Linked DNA regions of Homo sapiens: all the other regions are linked to region 1. The links are contacts of gene promoters, found by promoter capture Hi-C in blood cells and fetal thymus (Javierre and others, 2016). All regions are on one chromosome and are shown on one strand. Each heading gives the region's core, a stretch centred on a gene start or on the middle of the fragment in contact. The rest is flanking DNA. Distances are from core to core; before and after follow the strand shown. Region 1 holds the start of TIMP3 (TIMP metallopeptidase inhibitor 3). Region 2 overlaps SYN3 (synapsin III). Region 3 overlaps SYN3 (synapsin III).

Region 1 (2,977 bases), core at 184-2,683:
ACAAAAGTGTAGAAAGATGGAAGATCCCAGCTGCAAATGGCCATTTGCAGTTAGATGGAACAGCTGCTGACGTTCAGGGAAATGCATGTCTCTCTTCAGATGGGAAGGAGCAGTGGAAAGGGGTGACGAGTTCCTGGCTGGCCACCAATCATCCCATCTTTCTGTGCCGGTTCCTCATCTGGAAAGTGGGAGTGATACTTGTGCTTGCTTTTCCTACCCACAAAGATTATTGTGAGAGCTATAATACGGTGAGATACAGAATCCTGCTTTTAAAAATACAAAGCAGAATCAAGATGTCAATAATAAGGATAGTAATTGTGTTAGTTATCTGCAATCATCTATTATAGCTAGTCGTCTAGGATCCTGGATCGTTCTCCTGGTTTTACTACAGTTTTGGATCAGCTCACCCCCAAATCCCTTGCTGAAGGGTGGAGCTCTGTCAGCCATGGGCAGGGAACCACTTCCTCTTGCCTTTCTACTTTCTGTCTTTCAAACATGCCCAGGGTCTTTGCACTTGCTGTTCCCCCTGCCTGGTACCTCTCTCCTGTGGCTTGCCCCAGAGCTGATCCTTGTCTTTGTCCACTTCTCAGCGAGGATGGCACTTCAGGGAGCCCTTCCCTTACTATCGCAGAGAGAGCAGGCCCTCCCCAGTCATGTCCAACCCAGAACTCTGTTTTGTTTTCTTCATAGCCCTAGCATCACAGAAAATCACCCTGTGCATTCATGGATGTCCACGGGGGCAAGGGCTTTGTGTTGCTTAACCCAGCATCCTGAACCGTGTTTGTTGAATGAATACAGAACCCCGTTTGCTCTGGGAGAGCACAGAAAACAGTCTTCTATCATATATCATAGCCAGCTGCAAACAGCAGATGGCTTCCCATATCCCAGAGAGTAAGAACCAGAGAGAGAGAGAAAGAGAGAGAGTTTGGGTCTTTCTCCTCTGTGCCTGCTCTCTCCAGAGAAACTGGAGGGGTAGCAGTTAGCATTCCCCCGCTGGTTCCACCAAGCACAGTCAAGGTCTCTAGGACATGGCCACCCCTCACCTGTGGAAGCGGTCCTGCTGGGGTGGGTGGGTGTTAGTTGGTTCTGGTTTGGGTCAGAGACACCCAGTGGCCCAGGTGGGCGTGGGGCCAGGGCGCAGACGAGAAGGGGCACGAGGGCTCCGCTCCGAGGACCCAGCGGCAAGCACCGGTCCCGGGCGCGCCCCAGCCCACCCACTCGCGTGCCCACGGCGGCATTATTCCCTATAAGGATCTGAACGATCCGGGGGCGGCCCCGCCCCGTTACCCCTTGCCCCCGGCCCCGCCCCCTTTTTGGAGGGCCGATGAGGTAATGCGGCTCTGCCATTGGTCTGAGGGGGCGGGCCCCAACAGCCCGAGGCGGGGTCCCCGGGGGCCCAGCGCTATATCACTCGGCCGCCCAGGCAGCGGCGCAGAGCGGGCAGCAGGCAGGCGGCGGGCGCTCAGACGGCTTCTCCTCCTCCTCTTGCTCCTCCAGCTCCTGCTCCTTCGCCGGGAGGCCGCCCGCCGAGTCCTGCGCCAGCGCCGAGGCAGCCTCGCTGCGCCCCATCCCGTCCCGCCGGGCACTCGGAGGGCAGCGCGCCGGAGGCCAAGGTTGCCCCGCACGGCCCGGCGGGCGAGCGAGCTCGGGCTGCAGCAGCCCCGCCGGCGGCGCGCACGGCAACTTTGGAGAGGCGAGCAGCAGCCCCGGCAGCGGCGGCAGCAGCGGCAATGACCCCTTGGCTCGGGCTCATCGTGCTCCTGGGCAGCTGGAGCCTGGGGGACTGGGGCGCCGAGGCGTGCACATGCTCGCCCAGCCACCCCCAGGACGCCTTCTGCAACTCCGACATCGGTAAGCGCTCCTGGTGCCCCGCCCGAGCCCCACGCTGCAGCCAGGACTGCAGCGCTGCTTAGGGAGGCAGGGCGAGCCCCACTCCTTTCCTCTGCCCCAGGAGAGGGGCAGACGGGGTTGGGGCGGAGTGGAGAAACTCGATGTCCTTGGGCGGGGGCGCTGGCATAGCTGAGAGGGGAAGATGCCCTGCAGAGGAAACTCACAGTGGCTGAGGGAGCCCCTGGCCGCCTTTGCTTTCCTAACTTAGGTCGTGAGGTTCCTACCGGTCCTTTTGACATCTGGAAAATGTCCCCATTCACTACTAACGGAGGAAGGGCTAGAAGAGAAGGGTGGGGAAAGGGTTCCCAAAACTTGGAATGCTAACTAAAGTGCTGGGAAATTGAATAGTTAAAAAAAAAAAAAAAAGTTGCCCGCCATGTGCACGGAAAGTTGCAGGAGAAACTTGGAGTACTCCGAGTCTGCATCATCTCCTGCGCCTATGAAATTCATTCTTTTCACTGAGACCCAACCCAGCTGCAGGCTTCCCAGGCAAGCGCTAACCGAGCTTCTGGGACTGCCAAGTTTGGGTGGATTTAAGGGGGAAAATGAGGAGAAAGCTGTGGCATTGACCCACGCCCTGGAGGCACTGTGTTTGAGAGTGTTGATAGCCAGCAGAAGGTGCGAGGGGTCACTCACCACATAGCTGTGAAAATTCACAGGAAGGCTATTTTTTTCCCCCTTGAATGTGTGTGGGGAGGGGGAGAATGGGTAGTGGAAAACAGATTTGTCACCAAAAGAACAAACCTGCCAAGGGTCACATCACGGTGACAGTTCCAGACTGGACTTAGTGTCTTGAGTAGAGAGACCCTGTAAAGAGACCTCCTACTCCTTAGTGTGTATGGAGGGCCCCGAGAGCATCCTGGGAGGCTTGTCTGGGAGTGTTTGGGACACTTGTGTTTGGATGGCTAAAGGTGGAGTGGCATCTGGGAAACATCTCTCTCCTCCTTTCCAGCCCATAAAGCGTGCAAGTCCAGTGGCTCTGCTGGGAGAGTGTGTGTGTGTGCACTGGGCTGGGCTGGGCGGTGGGGTGGGACAGCCTTGCCGCCCTCTGCCTGTGTCGATTCAGAGGTGAAGAATGGAGCGTGTG
Region 2 (2,977 bases), core at 279-2,778, 120 kb before region 1:
AAAGTCCTTCTTTATTTACTTCTAAACTACAGCTCGCCATGGTGCCTTGGATAAATCTCTCATTCTAGCCACATCCTCAGATATTCTCTTTCCTTTTCTGTGGCTCCAGCTCAAATTCAATTTTCTCCATGTGGTCTCCTTTGACTTTTTATGGCAGAATTATGCACTCCCTTCTCTGTGCTCCCATACCCTTTGCCTCTGCCTGAATTCATGCACTTGTTTAATTCTACTTGATAGTACTGTTTGTTTTTCCCTTGTTTGTCTTCCCCAGAAGACTGTCAACTCTTTGAGGACAGAGGTCATGCTCTAATTTTGTCTGTATTCCACAGCATCTAGTTCAGTGTGTTTTTCAAATCAAGACACCTTGTTGAATGGGATGGGATCTGGCTGACAGCACTCTCACACCGTTGCTTGCACAGACTGGCCAACTGGTTTACCTGGTTTGCCCAACAAAGCCTCCTTAGATCTAGGTTGACTCCCTGTTCCAGAAGGCAATCCTGTGTACTCAACTTGCTAGTAGGTTTCATCCTTTGGATTCAGAATTTCCTATTTGTTCAGAGTTGTAAATTTCAGTGCCAAGCTACAAGTCCAACTCCATTCATTATCCTCTCTTTTATGTTCATGGCATATTTCAAAGTCAACATCTAAAGTCAAAAATCAAAGGATTTCCAAACTTAGTTTTTCCTCTCTCTTGAGGTTCCTTCCATATATCTAGGCTATTGCTAACATCAAATGTCCCAGCTCCAGAAATGCAGGCTGGGCTGACTTTTTTCTATGCTCTAGAAGAAAGCTGTGAAACTCAGCAAGATGTGATTCCTCCCCTTCTCCACATATCTTCACTTGTTAAATTCTACTTCTTATTTAAAGCTCAGCACAATCAATCTTTTCTATGTTTCACATATCACTTGCCATGATAAGGGAGGTGGGAGCTTGCCTGGCAGGCTCAAGGAATGGCAAGAAGGGTGATGTAGCTTGGTGAAGTGAGGGAGGAGAGAGTATGGGAGATGAGGTGGCAGAGTCGACAGGGGTTGCAGAGGGTGTAGAGAAGTGGTTCTCAACCAGGGGGCCATTTTGACCTCCAGGGATATTTGGCAACGTCTGGAGACATTTTTGGTTGTTACAACTTGGGAGTGGGGGGTGGGATGCTACTGGCATCGAGTTAGTAGACAAAGGTCAGGGATAGTGCCAAATGGCTTGCCTGGCAGGTTTGAGGGTATAGAGGAATGGTTCTCAACCAGGGGCCATTTTGGCCCCAGGGGATATTTGGCAATGTCTGGATATTTACCTTGTGCCTGGATTTGTTCTAGATACACTTTCACCTACATGTCCTCTAATCTTCTCAACAGCCATGGAACACACATATGATCCCATTTACCATATGAGAAAACCACGACTCAGAGAGGCTGAGGTTCCTGGTCAGTATGTGACCAGGGCAAGACTGGACTTCAGCTCACCTGACCAGGAAGACAGTGCTTTCTCCACCCTATTTGGCTGTTGCAGCTGCTGACTCAATCCACCATTCACAATAGTACCTCACTTTATTCAACAAATATTTTGCAAACACTTCCTATGCACCAGGCAGTGTTCTAAGCACTCAGAACACATTAGTGGATATAGCAAACAAAAGCCCATGAAGGCATGTAGATAGTTATATTCTAGTTGTGGGAGACATACTAAAAACGATCAATAGATAAAACAAGTTATGAAGTACTAGAAAGTAAAAAGAGGTATGAAATGAACTGCAGGGCAAGTGGGATAGAGAGTCCTGGAGGTATGGGATGGTGGACACAATTTCAAATACAGCTGTCACGAAGCCACATTATGATGGTGATGTTTGAGCCGAGACTTAGCAGAGGTAAGAGAGTTAGTCATGTGGGATTGGGGAAAGACGATGTAGCTTGGTGAAGTGAGGGAGGAGAGGGCACGGGAGATGAGGGGCAGCAGGGGTTGCAGAGGGTGGAGAGGAGTGGTTCTCAACCAGGGGCCATTCTGACCCCAGGGGATATGGGCAATGTCTGGAGACATTTTTGGTTGTCACAACTTGGGAGTGGGGGTGGGATGCTACTGGCCTCTAGTAGGCAAAGGTCAGGGATTCTGCAAAACATCCTACAATGCACAAGTCTGCCCCCACAAAATAGAATTATCCAGCTCCAAATATCAATCGTGTAGAGACTGAGAGACTGGTTGAGAGCCAAGATCTTTTGAGGATCTTGAACAGAGGAGTGACATGATTTGACTTACATTTTGCAAGATGCCTCTGGCTGCTGTATTGAGAATAGACTATAAGGATAAGGGCAAGGGAGGAAGCAGGGACACCAGTCTGGAGATTACTGCAGTCACCCAGGAATTAGATGTAGGACGACTCATCCCCTTCTAGGGTGGAAGGCCCTGGAAGCCAGGGAGGAAGGGCAGTAGCATTTACGGAGCACCCAGAGGGTGCTAGGCTTTCATATACATTATCTCTTTAGACCCCATCTGATCTTTATTAGTCCCAGCACTTGGATTGGAGTTAAGTTGTTTAAGTAGTTTGACATCGCTGGATGTAAATGAGGCTTTGAGTAGAAAGAAGAGAAGGTTTTTATTGCACAGCGTTTGACGAATCAGTATTTATTCTGGGTGATGTTATTTTTCACCAATAGGGTGGATGCCTGGACTGCAGGTAGGCACATGCCCTTGTAAAGGCACACGAAGAAACTCTTGGAGAAGCCCAGACAGAGCTCTCCTGTGGTACCCATGTGTTATCATTTAGCAGATATGCCCTTGGAAGGTGCCTTGGTGAGGCTAGCTGTGACACATTCCGTTAAGAATAAACATTTGCATAGGGCACCTGAAGCCAGGCACCTGTGGCCACTTTTCCTGGAAGAGCCAAGCTCTTGAAAATATCTACATTAGGGTCTTTCCTCCAAGAACTGGAAGGTCATCCATGCAAGAGTGGACAAATAGGTGTGATGCGGGTTGCAGAGGAGCAAGAAGCTCA
Region 3 (2,977 bases), core at 154-2,653, 100 kb before region 1:
TTTACGTGATGGAGGGCAGGGTGTGGACAGCCCCTGGCATGTAGGCTGAAGTTGGTTCTGACAACCCAGACCTCCACATGGGCCGTTGGGCTCCCCTGAACCCTGCTGGGCTCAGTTCAGGAGAAATGCTCTTGCCAATGGGCAGGGAGGCTTAGCATTCCACCCCTGCTCTTTTAATCCCCTCTGTGCAGGAATGTTCCACTGCAGAGACAGCAGAGCTTGCAGAGACAGGAGGTGGTGCCAAAAGGGAGAGAGTGGTGGAGAAACAGTTTTGATGAGATTTAGGGTGGTGTGTGTGCAGGGATGGGGGTAGGTGCTGAGTTAGGCTCTACCATGGACTCACTGTGTGACCTTGACCAAGTCACATTGCTCTCGGGGCCCAATTTGTTTACCTTCAAAAGATGAGGATAGACAAAAAAGATACAAGATTCATTTCTGGATAAAGCTGTAAAATTCTAAAAGCTGTTTTACTTGTGAAGTCCAAAGTAAGATTCTGTTTTTCATCTACAGGGCCTCTCCTCTAGAGAGATTTGTATACAAGTGCATTTGTAGGAAACAGGGTGTCTGTCTTAATGGGAATATCAGAGTCTACCTCTCATCTCAGTTCTAGAATTTTAAGCACCTTGAGGCAAGGTCTATGACTCATACCGCCCAGGACATAGAATTCCTCTGAATGTAATAAATAGAAGAGCACTTTGAGGTCATCGAATCCAATCTTCTTAGTTTTAGATGGGGGATAATGGGACCAGAGAAGGGAAGTTGTTCTCTCAATATTATACAATGAATCTCAGGCCCGGAACTCAGGTTCTCTGCTCCTAGAACAAAGCTTGTTCCAACAATCGAAAATTTCTGCCTGAAATTTTGTATACGGTCTCTGAATTCCAAGGCTTTCAGATGCTTCCTCTTTTTAAAATAGGCTTGACTCCTCCCTCCTTTGGGCAACTTTCAGGTTAACTCAGGGATTGACTATGGAGACTATAAGAGTCTTAAGCTCATGTGAAGTCTGTGAAATTCCACAGGCTTAAAGTATCCCTTGGGAATCTGAGAGATTTTGCCCAAGTAGCCCAAGCCTTGGACAGCAGCCTCCCTGGAAGGGATGTGGCTCCTGCATTATCTGGTCCCAACTCCAGCTCCAGGATAGGATCTCTGAGCTGACATAATACGGCCCTATTGTAAACAAGGGAGGGTCATGACCCTCCACAAATGACTAACATGCTAATTTGAAAAGTCTGCCTGGACTAGAAAAACAAACAAGAACAATGAAATTTAAGGCAACATTTTAGACAACCAGGAGGCAAGGGGAAACTCAGAAACATGAAAAAAGGAGTCCCCAACAGCTATTGTCCCTTTCATAAACACTCACTAAGCACCGGTCACGTGCCAACCAATGCATCAGCCAACACAAGAGGAAAACACATCAAGCCAGCCCTCTAAGACCTCACAATTCTAGGGGATTAGACAAGCACTCATATGGCCAGTGCTTCTAGGCTGTAAATGAAAAATAGCTTTAAACACCATGTAATAGGAAGCAGCCTCAGCCCAGATTTCTGTATTGAACTTCAGACCAGCAGCCTGCCTAACATCAACCACTTGGATGTCTCATAGGTAACGCATCTTCAAAACAGATCTCATGGTTTTTCACCCCAAATTTCCACTGTTCTGTTAGAATAAGTGACACCATCATTTACTCAGTTGCTCATTCCAGAAATGGGAATCATCCTCGATAACTACTTCTCCCTCGTTAACTCCTCATATTCATTCAATCAATCCCTAAGTCCTATAAATTCTAAACATATTTTAAATATGCCCCATCTTAACTGCTGCTTCCCTGAAAGCAAGTCAACATGATCACTTTTCTCAACAGACTCAGAATTAGCCTTCTAGAATCCACTGTTGTTTCTAATCTGTTCTCTGCAGAGTAATAATAAGACTGATTTTTAAAGAAACACACACAGTTGATTGAGTCACACTCTTGCTTAAAAAGCTTCAATGAGGACTTGTGATTCCATCCATGAATAATTAGCTGTTACAGAAACTGCCCTCCCACTGATGCAATTACTTAACTGCTCATCAGAACAAAATCTAGTATTCTTGAAATACACACAACAAAATCCACCACCTAAGAACATAAAAATCACAATACCCAGCATCCAGTAAAAAATTACCAGGTATGTAAGAAAGCAGAAAAATATAACCCATAACCAGGAGAAAAATGAATCAACAGAATCAGATCAAGAAATTATAAGAAGGTTGAATTTGTAGACAAGGACCATTAAAAAGCTGCTATTAAGTCTTACAAATATGTCCAAGGATATAAAGAAAAACATGAAGCTGATGAAGAAAGAGGTTAAAGATGTAAAAGGATGCTCATAGAATTTATAGAGATAAAACATATAATATCTGAAATGAAAAATACATTTAAGTGAAATTAAATGCAAATTATATACTATAGAAGACAACTGAAGTTGAAGCTGTAGCAATAGAATCTACCCAATATAAAGCACAGAAAAACAAAACAAAACAAACAGTGCCGCAGTGAGCTGTGGAACAATAGCAAACAGTCTGACATTATGTGTTATTGGAATCCCAGAAGAAGAGAGGGGAGTACAGAAAAAATTATGAAAATATTAATGAAAAAAATGTTTCCAAACAATGGAAATTTTAAACCCAAGAAGCTCAATGAACCTGAAATAAGAAGAAAAAACACAAAGAAAACCATACTGAGGAACTTATTTTTGTGTGTGTGATTTAAGTATTTTCTTGATTTTCTTTCAGGAATAAATTCATGTATTTATTTTCAATATTTTGGTAACACATAATAGATATGGACAATGTAGACAGTAAACAACAAATCTAATTATTTACGTATTATCTTCTGAAGCGTAGAGACTTAGTGACAGGAATGTCTAATCCATTGTTGAGCTCATTGATTCCCAAGATAAAAATAAAGTAATAGAAGCATCGGCCAGGCGCTATG

The links. Contacts are between HindIII fragments. The CHiCAGO score rates a contact against its expected background, and 5 or more counts as called.
Region 2: a fragment that was not itself captured here is called in contact with the fragment with the promoter of TIMP3 in region 1 in 4 of 17 cell types (monocytes, megakaryocytes, M2 macrophages and 1 more); the score reaches 10.1 in monocytes.
Region 3: a fragment that was not itself captured here is called in contact with the fragment with the promoter of TIMP3 in region 1 in 3 of 17 cell types (M2 macrophages, monocytes and M0 macrophages); the score reaches 6.8 in M2 macrophages.

What each region holds. Positions count from the first base shown.
Region 1 is chr22:32,800,272-32,803,248 of GRCh38, forward strand. TIMP3 (TIMP metallopeptidase inhibitor 3) reads left to right here and starts at 1,434. Exons shown (of 5, transcript NM_000362.5): 1 at 1,434-1,851. The coding sequence starts at 1,731. All of the region lies in intron 6 of SYN3 (synapsin III), which reads right to left. The HindIII fragment of the contact is 16,798 bases long and covers 1-2,977 here.
Region 2 is chr22:32,680,134-32,683,110 of GRCh38, forward strand. All of the region lies in intron 6 of SYN3 (synapsin III), which reads right to left. Among named protein-coding and RNA genes, the nearest start is that of SYN3-AS1, 110 kb to the left of the region's middle. The HindIII fragment of the contact is 9,004 bases long and covers 1-2,977 here.
Region 3 is chr22:32,699,233-32,702,209 of GRCh38, forward strand. The region is part of intron 6 of SYN3 (synapsin III); the gene reads right to left. Among named protein-coding and RNA genes, the nearest start is that of TIMP3, 100 kb to the right of the region's middle. The HindIII fragment of the contact is 1,158 bases long and covers 825-1,982 here.